2 separate regions of the Homo sapiens genome follow, and region 1 is linked to region 2. Evidence: promoter capture Hi-C in human tissues and cell types (Jung and others, 2019). All regions are on one chromosome and are shown on one strand. Each heading gives the region's core, a stretch centred on a gene start or on the middle of the fragment in contact. The rest is flanking DNA. Distances are from core to core; before and after follow the strand shown.

Evidence for each region. Contacts are between HindIII fragments. The study calls those that stand out against the background at their distance.
Region 1: a fragment that was not itself captured here is called in contact with the fragment with the promoter of UNC5A in region 2 in 3 of the 25 tissues and cell types used here (mesendoderm cells, spleen and thymus).

What each region holds. Positions count from the first base shown.
Region 1 is chr5:176,773,499-176,778,270 of GRCh38, reverse strand. No RefSeq gene overlaps it. Among named protein-coding and RNA genes, the nearest start is that of LINC01574, 33 kb to the right of the region's middle. The HindIII fragment of the contact is 9,372 bases long and covers 1-4,772 here.
Region 2 is chr5:176,809,226-176,814,039 of GRCh38, reverse strand. It overlaps UNC5A (unc-5 netrin receptor A), which reads right to left and starts at 3,481. Exons shown (of 15, transcript NM_133369.3): 1 at 3,220-3,481. The coding sequence starts at 3,289. The HindIII fragment of the contact is 11,668 bases long and covers 1-4,814 here.

The DNA.
Region 1 (4,772 bases), core at 625-3,124, 34 kb after region 2:
CACTCCAGCCTGGGCAACAAGCGTGAAACTCCGTCTCAAAAAAAAAAAAAAAAAAAAAAGACAGGATAATAAATATTTTAGGTTTTGCAGTCTCTGCTGAACCTTCTCACTGCCACTGTGGAGTGCAGGTGTAGTCAGTATGTAAGTGAGTGAGCGCGGCTCTGTTCCAATAAAACTTTATTTGTAAAAACAGGTGGTAGGCCAGATTTGGGCTGTGGGCTATAGTTTGTTGATCCTTGCTGTAAGCCCAAAATCACAGACTGGCAGCCTTCCAGCCAATTTTGTCCCACAGATTTTTGTTTTCTTTTGTATTTTTAGCCAACATTAAAAGATGAGGTGATTTCATGATTTCACATACAAATCTAGATTTCCAGGTTCTTTAGAGAGTCTGAAGCTCAGGCTTGCAATCCCACGCGGCAACAACCAGCTGGAGCCGGCTTCCACTGGGCTATGGGCTCTCCAGTTTGCCAGAGTCCCCACCGCTCCCTATTGCCACCCAGATACCATTCCCTGGCTGTGCTAATGTTCCGCTTGGTGTCCTCCCCACCCCTCACCGCATTAATTTCCCAGGGCTGCCTAGTAACAACGTACCACAAACTAGGGGGCTAAAAGACAGAAATGTGAAGTTCAGGATCTAGGCATCAGGGTTGGTTCCTTCTGAAGGCTGTGAGGGGGAGTCTGTTCCACGCCTCTGCTCTTGATTCTGGCAGCCTCAGGCATTGTTGTAGATGGTATTCTCCCTGTGGTCTGACATGATCTGCCCCTGTGTTTGTCTGTCTTGTCCAAATTCTCCTTTTTTATAGATACCAGTCACATTGTATCGGGGCCGCCTTAGTCACCTCGCCTTAACTTGATGACTTCTGGAAGGACCCTGTCTCCAAATAAGGTCACCTGCTGAGGTGCTAGGGCTTAGAACTCTAGCCTACCTTTTTTGGGGGCACAGTTCAATTCAACCTGTCACACTCACCCAGTCCCTTCACTGCCTTATATTTCCTTCCTGGATCCCACCACTAGTAGCGAGGACCCAGCCACATGTCCCCGGCACAGTCAGATCTGCCTGTCACAAAGATTTTGCAGGTGACAGCACAGAGAACATATTTGGATGGGGCAGGGCCTGGCCCCAGGAGCATGGGGTGGGGGCGGGGGCCCTGGACAGGAGGTGTCAGGGTCAGGAGGGACCGAGGAGAAGATCCTCAGGCTTGGTGCAATGTTGGACACGGGGAGAGGAAGGCGAATGCCTGGGTCTCAGGCTTGAGAGAACAGATGGACAGTTGTGCTTTTGTTTGTTTGTCTGTTTGTTTGAGACGGAGTCTCGCTCTGTTGCCCAGGCTAGAGTGCAGTGGGGTGATCTTGGCTCACTGTGACCTTTGCCTCCTGGGTTCAAGTGATTCTCCTGCCTCAGCCTCCCAAGTAGCTGGGATTACAGGCACCCACCATCAAGCGCAGCTGATTTTTGTATTTTTAGTAGAGACGCGGTTTTACCATGTTGGCCAGGCTGGCCTCGAACGCCTGACCTCAGGTGATCTGCCCACCTTGGCCTCCCAAAGTGCTAGGATTACAGGCGTGAGCCACGGTGCCCAGCCGCAGTTGTGCTATTGCTGAAGGAGCGAGCACATTTTAGTGGAGGTTTTGTACAGGGCGGAAACTGCAGACTGAGCTGGGAGAGAAGACACAAAACTGTGCTCCCAGAATTTCCACGGGGAGAGACCTGGGCCCAGGCTGACCGGAAAGAAGATGGGGGTTAGGGAAGTTCCCCAGACAGGAGGACTCAGGGCAGCCACAGAAGAGGGGGAAGGGCTGATTGGACCACCTCAGCAACACAGAGTCAGGGGTAGCTTGATTTATTGGTCTCGATTTTTTACCCCTCTCTGTATCCATACCCTTTGCAGTTTCTCCCCCGAGGAGCTGCATGTTCCCCTCGACCTTTAACTTTGGGTATAACCATAAGACACGGCCTGGCACCCCACTGGTCCAAGAAAAATGAGAAACACAATGGAGCAGAGCCAGACCCAACCGCCCTCCCAGCGCAGCCCAGGCTGGGCTGCCAACATCCAGGCAGTCTGCACACGTAGGAGTCACATACACCCGGTCCCTGACTTACGATTTTTCAACTTTACAATGATGCAAAGCCATGCATGCTCAGTAGAAACTACTCTGGCTTTTTGAGACGGAGTTGCGCTGTTGTTGCTCAGGCTGGAGTGCAGTGGTGCTATCTCGGCTCACCTCAACCTCCGCCTCCCAGGTTCAAGTGATTCTCCTGCCTCAGCCTTCCAAGTAGCTGGGATTACAGGGATGCGCCATCACACCCGGCTAATTTTTGTATTTTTAGCAGAGACGGGTTTTCTCTATGTTGGTCAGGCTGGTCTTGAACCCCCGACCTTAGGTGATCCACCCTCCTTGGCCTCCCAAAGTGCTGGGATTACAGGCGTGAGCCAAAGCGCCCAGCCCCCAATTTTCACATTTGGTATAGTGTTCAATAAATTACATGAACTATCTGACACATTATTATAAAACAGGCTTTGTTTTAGATGTTGCTGCCCAACGTAGGCTGATAGAAACCTTCTGAGCACGTTTAAGCTAGGCCAGGCTAAGCTACGATGTTTGCCAGGATAGGAGAATCAAGTGCATTTTCCACCTACGAGATTTCTAACTTTCTGTGGGTTTATCAGGATGTGACTCCATCTTACGTCAGGCACATCTACGAAGTTTATTGCCGTTTGCCTCTGAGAGTTTGTGGTTGTTTGCTACATAGCAACAGCTGACTGACACACAGCCAAATTGTACCCTTTTACAGATGAGGAAACTGAGGCCTTAGAAGGTAAGAGGCTTGCCCAGTGATTTACAAATAATAAGCAGCAGAGATCCAGGTGTCCCGATCCCTAACCCAAGAGTCTTTCTTTCTACTCCATGACAGCGACCGTCACCCAGCTTCTGGTTTGTTCGTTCATTCATTCATTCATTCATTCATTTAATAAACACGTGTTCCTGGAGAGACGTAGATGACTTGGGTTTATTCTCAGCCCTCAAAAAGCTCTGTGTGGTGTTGGTGGGAAGACGGGCCTCAAACGAACCACGAGGAATGTGGCAAGAGGTAACAGAGATGTGCTTAGGCACCAAGAAGAGTCAAGGAACCCAGCTCGAGGAAACCAGGACAGGCTTCCTGGAGGATGGGGTGTCTGAGCTGAGTCATCATGAATGAGAAGGAGCTGACCAGCAAACTGAGGAGGAGGGAGGTTGGCGTGAGTGTGGGCTGGAATTGAGGCACAGCGTGGGACTAGTGTGTGGGGCTATGGGCAGGCGGGAGCAGCCGCCAACCAAGGTCAAGTCCGCTTGAGCTGTCCCAGCCATTCAGGTGAGGCAGGGAATGACAGGAGATGGGCTGGAGAAGGGGGGCAGGGCTCACATCCAGGCCTTTATCTCTTGGAAGGAGCTCAACCCCTTTCACAGCAGGTGATTGGGGGCCCTTGGGGATGTGGCCTCGGACAAATGAACTCGTTTGCTGCGCCACAGTTTGCCCATCCCTAAAACCAGGTGCTGGACAAGCTGGCCTTCAGGGGCCCCTCCAGCCCTAAAGCCACTGTGGGGGCCTCACCAGGGGTGGGCACGCCACACAGGAGGTTATCTGTCCCGGCAGCCGATCCAGGCCCAGAGGGGAGAAGAGAAGCCCCCTCTGCCCGTGGGTGGCGACCCTTCCTTCCACCTTCGAGCAGCAGGGAACGTCTCTCTTAGCCAAAGGCTGGTCAAGAACAGGAAGAACGAGGACACATTAGACATTCGACATTAAATATAGGACTATCCAGATGGGGGAAATGACTTTCTGTTTCCCTTCCTCTTCTCCTCACGGAGGGAACATGGGGGAGGCTGGGATTAGTCATTGACGCGAGGGGGGCTGGCCAGCTCCAAAGAGCCCCGTCCTCGCACCCTGCCTCAGAGCCCAGACAGAGACCACCTGAAGGAAAAACAGGCGCCTAACACAAGAACCCCCTATTTGACAGGAGAGGGGCAAGCCAGCCAGGCTGGCAGGAAAATTCCAGGTAATTGATGTTATTTTCCCATTGACTATGTTCTGCCAGAAAAGATTTCAGTTACAGGGTGTCATCAAATCACACTGAAGAATCCTACTAAAAGACTACTTTTATAACGAGGAAAAAAAATGTACTTTTAAAGAGGAGTCTGTGGTATAACCTCCTCAGAGGGCAATTTGGCGATGCCTTTAACACCGTGAAATGCGCACACTCTGATGTGACAATTCCACTTGTGGGAACTGGCCTCGCAAGCGTGTTTGCACAGGCACGCACACACCTGTGCGGGGAAGATGCCCTTTGCAGCACTGTCTGTGGAAGCGGATGACTGGAAGCGACCCCAGCATCACCAGTGAGGCGTTCGGGGCCAATGAACAGGATACCCCATAGGCTGGAATACTATGCAAGCATTCAGAAGACCGTGGCCACTGCCTACGGGAAAGATTTCCAAGCAACAGTGTTCAACAAAAAAGAAGCAAGAGGAAGGCCTCTTTCCTTGGACACAGCCTGCTCTGTGTATGCAGAAAGCAAGGAGGACAGCTGTACAGAGACGGGCAGGAGCTCTGTTTCTTGCAGCGACCATAACAAATGACCATGCACTTGGTGGCCTCAGACAGCACAGATGTATCCTCTCTCTGGAGGTCAGAACTCTACCATCAAAGTGTCAGCAGGGCCATGCACCCTCTGAAGGCTCTACTTTCTTCTTCTTTGAGATGAAGTCTTGCTTTGTTGCCCAGGCTGGAGAGCAAC
Region 2 (4,814 bases), core at 2,232-4,731:
TAGATGTGAAGCGTGAGAGAGAAGGGAGAAGCAAGGGAGACGCTAAGGCTTCCAGCCCCAGGCTGGGAGAATAGGAGGAGGGGACGGCAGGGCCCTTGGGAGGAGGGGGCATTGGGAGAGGGGTGGCCTAGAACAGGAGGCCCCGCATGCATATGCGTGGACACACAGATTCCCAAGTGGCAGCTAGGCCCAGCACTAGAGCAGGGGAGCCCCACCCCAAGCTCAGGGCAGGCTCCTGCCTTGTGAAGCCTCGGAGCTCCAGCCTGCGGGTCTGGGCCCAGAGCAGCACTAGGCAGGAAGAAGGGTCGTGAGGACAGGGGCTCTCTGGCCCTTGGCTGAGGCCAAAGTTGGCTGCTCCTGGGAACGAGGGCCGTGACTTCTGGTGTGGGCTTGGTACCTGGATCAATGCCTATCCCTGGTTCCTGAGAGAAGCCCCCCCTCCCAACACAGGCAAGTGGGGAGCAGGCAGGCAGCAAGAGGACCAGCTCTCCCCTGGGAGGACCTAGGGGCCCCAAAGCCCAGGCCACCCCACCTGCAAGGCAGGGCGAGCAGGAACAGGGTATCTCCTAGCCCTGGAGGATTAAGACCCCCTCAGCCAGCTGCATTCTCCCAAGTGTCGGGGTGGACAGACGAGTCCTAGGTTAGCCCTAAGTATGGGGATGGGGTCTGAGAAGGAGGAGCCAGGCTAGATGGTTGGGGTCAGGTTGGGCAATGCAGCAATGCCAGAGCATGGCACCCCTCAGCCCCATCTTCAAGGGAGCCAGCTCCCAAGTCCCTCCTGCTCAAGACTGCAGAGGTCTGGGTGACAGGGAGACCACAGGGGCAGGGTGGGGGTTTGCATGCCAGCTGCGTGACGGGGTTTGAGAGGGAAAATCCTGTGAGACAGATGGGTGCTTGCGTGCGCGGGCACAGAGAGGGCCTGCAGGTGCGAGCATGCTGAAGGGACAGGCTTTTGTGTGATGTCCAGCAACAGAGGGTGGGCGCGTGGCCTGGGGAGCAAGCGGCTGCAGTCAGTCGCGCTGGCCCCCGGCGCCCCCTGCTGCCCGCTGGCCATCCCTCCCTCAGCGGCTCACAGACACATTTTTCACCGGAGGCTGTTGCAACGGAGGCAAAAGGCAGCGCGGGAGGAGCCCGGGTCACGGCAGGGCCAGCCTGCCTGGGCGTCCACATGTGCCCAGTGCCTGTGGGGCACAGGGGGAAGGGAGTCCCAAAGAAGTAGGGCCAGCCCCTCCCCACCCCATGGCCTTCAGCAGCTCCTCCCGCAGGCCCAGGGGCAGAGTTGATGCCTTGGGGCAGGCTCTGCGTCAGCCCCTGCAGCACCTGTGCCCACCTGCCGACTCCCTGGGCAACCTTGGGCCAGGCCTCAACAGATGCCCTGCCAACCAGGGATGCAGTTTCCCCACCCCCACAGCCTCCTGAGGAGTCCCTGTGGCAACCCCCCGCTCCAGGCCGCAGCACCCTGCTTCACCGGTACCTGTGCCCCCTTATCTGTACACGCTCACCTGTGCAACTGCACACAGCCGTCACACACGTGCGGCATGCTGGTCATCACACACGTTCATCAGGGCACACACATGCCAATGCTGCACACACCATGCCAACCCCCCTGGTTACCCGGGCACACATGTCAACCCACAGCCTTCACACGTGCTCACGTGGGCGACATGCAGCTATGACCACACAGCCCTCAAAAGCATCAACTCAGAAAACATTTCCAGGGTACCTACTGGGTGTCAGGCAACACCCCACCTGTGTGTGGGGCACTAATATCCCCACCTCATCATGGACAACAGTGCAACCTGCACCCGGGTGCTCATCTGCGGAGCTGCACACACGCCCCTAACACACACATGTGGCGGACACGGACACACACCCAACAGCAGTTCAGCCTCTCAGCTTGGTCAGGATTAGAAGGAGAGGCCCTGGGGAAGAAGAGGGGTGCTGATGGAGAAGGGAGATAGAAGGGGTGGGATGGAGTAGAGAGGGGTACTGAGGAGGCAGGATGGGGCGGGCGGTCAGGCAGTGGTGGGTGCAGGATGCGCTGCGCAGAGACACCCTTTAAGGAAACAGCCATCGGCCTCAATCATCAGGCTGGCTCCTGAGCTCCCACTCATTGATCTCTGATCAATCTGGTTTGGCAGCTCAGAAACCCCAGTGCTCCCTTCCAACACCCCTGTTATAAGCAGCGGCCTGGCCAGGCTGGGGAGTAACCGCCCAGGTTCTAGGGGCAGCAAGAATCGAGAATTGCCAGGGTAAGCCTCAAGCCCCCTTGACCACACAAATGGCACCCACCCCCCACCACCACAGACACATACGCTCAACTCAGCTAAGTGCATGGGGGGCAGAGATCAGGAGGCCCCCACAGCTCAGCCTAGGTGAAGGCTCAGGGACAGCAGACAAAGGATGCAGGGGAACTTCCTCCCCCCAAGCCCCTCCCAAGGGAATGAGGTGGGCTGAGGGCTGAGTTAGCAGTGGGTTAGGGTGACCAATGGGGCATGCAGGGGCCAAGAAAGGCTATGGAGTTTAAGGAAGAAGGGGAAACTGGCGGACCAACCACACACAACTCTGGCCCCCCGCACCAGGGAGGCCAGGAGCCACAGCCCCGGCCACCGGGACCGCGGCGCTTTGACTGTGCTGGCTGCAAGGACTGGGGGCTGGTGTATGCGCCTCCACGCCTGAGTGTGTGCGTGTGAGAGCGTGTGTGGCGGGGACAGAGGAGGACACTGTGTTCTGGACGTGGGCAGAGGCCAGGTGCCAAGCTGGGAGATTGTGAGTGGCTGTTTAGGGCAGATGCTACCGGGAAGAGGTATCTTAAACGTTCCCCGCACCCCCCATTTCCTGGGCACTGGGATAGGCTCAAAACCCTCTAATCTTCGAATCCTCAAAGTCAGGCTCCCTGGGGTTGATCCAAACCCCCAGCCCTGCTCCGGGCCCAGGCAACCAGCAAACTTCCCCCACCCGGAGGCGTGGGGTGTCTACACTCGCCAGCCCCGCGGGCTGACAGCTGCTCCTGGACTTGGCAGAACCCAGGCTTCCGGGAGAGCGCGCGGGGAAGCTGCGCAGCAGCAAGAAGAGCCCCCCGCGTCCCGCCTCGCAAAGTTTGGCCTCGGGGGGCTCCCAGCCGGGTCTGGCAGCGCTGGTCAGGGACCCCCAGAGCAGCGAGCGTTCGCGCGCACGGTCCCCCGCAAGCCTCCCCAGAGCGCGCGCGGCGTGACTCACCCGAGCCGCGGAGCCAAGCGGCGAGGACTATGCCCAGGAGCGCTGGCCACAGGCCGGGCCGGACGGCCATGGCCGCGGGCGGGCAGGCGGGCGGGCCGGGCGCGGGGCCCCGCGGGCGGGAGGGCGGCTTTAGCGCCTCAGCCCGGAGCCCCAGCTCGGGGCGCCCCCGGGGCCCATGCCAGCGGACTGCGCTGCCTCCGGGCGGCCGGCTGCCGGGCGCACGCGGCGCGTGGCTCCCTTGGGCACGGGAGCGCAGCAATGCAGCCGGGGCGGAGCGCAGCGCCAGCCGCGCCGCGCACCGAGCCAGCCGCGCCGCGGAGCCCGCAGCCGGAGAGCGGGCCGGTGGGCGCCGCAAAACCCGGACTGGAGCGACGGAGCGGGGCGGCGGCTGGGAGGGGCGGGGGAAGGAAGGAGGGGCCGGGCCGCCCCGCGCAGCGCGCGCGGGCCACCCCCAGCACCGGGAATCCCTCTGGGCGATGCCTGAGGCTCCCCCAGGGAGGGGCTTGGGGTGGTGGGCGTGGAGGCCTCCCACCGCCCCGCGGGGTCTCCAGGGACAGGGGCAGGAGTCTGAAACCCGGAGTGGATCGGTGCTCCGGATCCGGGCTCTCGCGGGCCCGCCAGTCTGCGCACAGGTGGCCCGGGAGGGGCCCGGGGCTGCGGCGACCCCGGCGCGGCGCCAGCCTGCGGAGAGCCGCCCAGGGCAGGGGTGCCCCGGGCAGGTTCCGCTGCAGTCCTCTCCCCCGCCCTTTCCTCGCGGCCGCGCTCCGGGGTCGTCCGGGCGCCGCGGTACGCTGCCAGCCCGCGGCTTGGTTAGGGGACTGCGGGAGAGCCCCGGGGCCCTGGCCCGCGCGCAGAGGTGCCCTGGCCACCAGAGCTGGCAGGCCAGACTCGGGGACACCCGCAGTCCCAGCCTCGCAGGCTGGTGGATTCCAGGGGCGCGCCTCACACCATGACCCAAGGTTTCCCTAACCCCTCGGCGCCGTTCGCCGAAGGAAAACAACCTTCAGGCGCAGCACACCCGACTGGGCGCGCGGTGTTTGAGCCCCGAGAGCGCACGGCGCCCGCGACGTGGGTGTAAAGGAACGAGCTGGGCTTTGGCAGCTAGGGAGACCGGGGGTAGGGTCCAGGCGACTTCACCTTCCAGCTCTGTGACCTTGGTCAAGTCACGTCGTCTCCTGGAGCCTCCAGCAGTGACCGCTGCTGGAGTCTCCTGTGCCCCACCCCCATTCCCTAATCGGGTTAAAATAAACAGAGGGCTGCCTTGAAGGAGAAAGGAAATGACAGCCGCGTGCGGTGTGCCTGGGGGGAGTGATCGGAAAAAGAGAGGGTCCTAGTCTGGGTCGGGAGGGGAATGAGCAGGGTGAGGGCAGGGTCGCAAACTCAAACGCCTACGGGGCCGGTCGATAATATAAATTGGCGCTGCAGGCTAGGCGATGTAAGGGATGGTCTTGCTTCCACAAAGAGATATGAGCTCTCCTATATTTCTTGAGACACGAGGCCCTCTCTCGGTCTGTCTTTTGTTTCCCACTTTTGATAGAGAAGGGTTATGAAAAATGTTTTGCTTTCCTCTTAAGTCTACTATAAAAAACACCAGC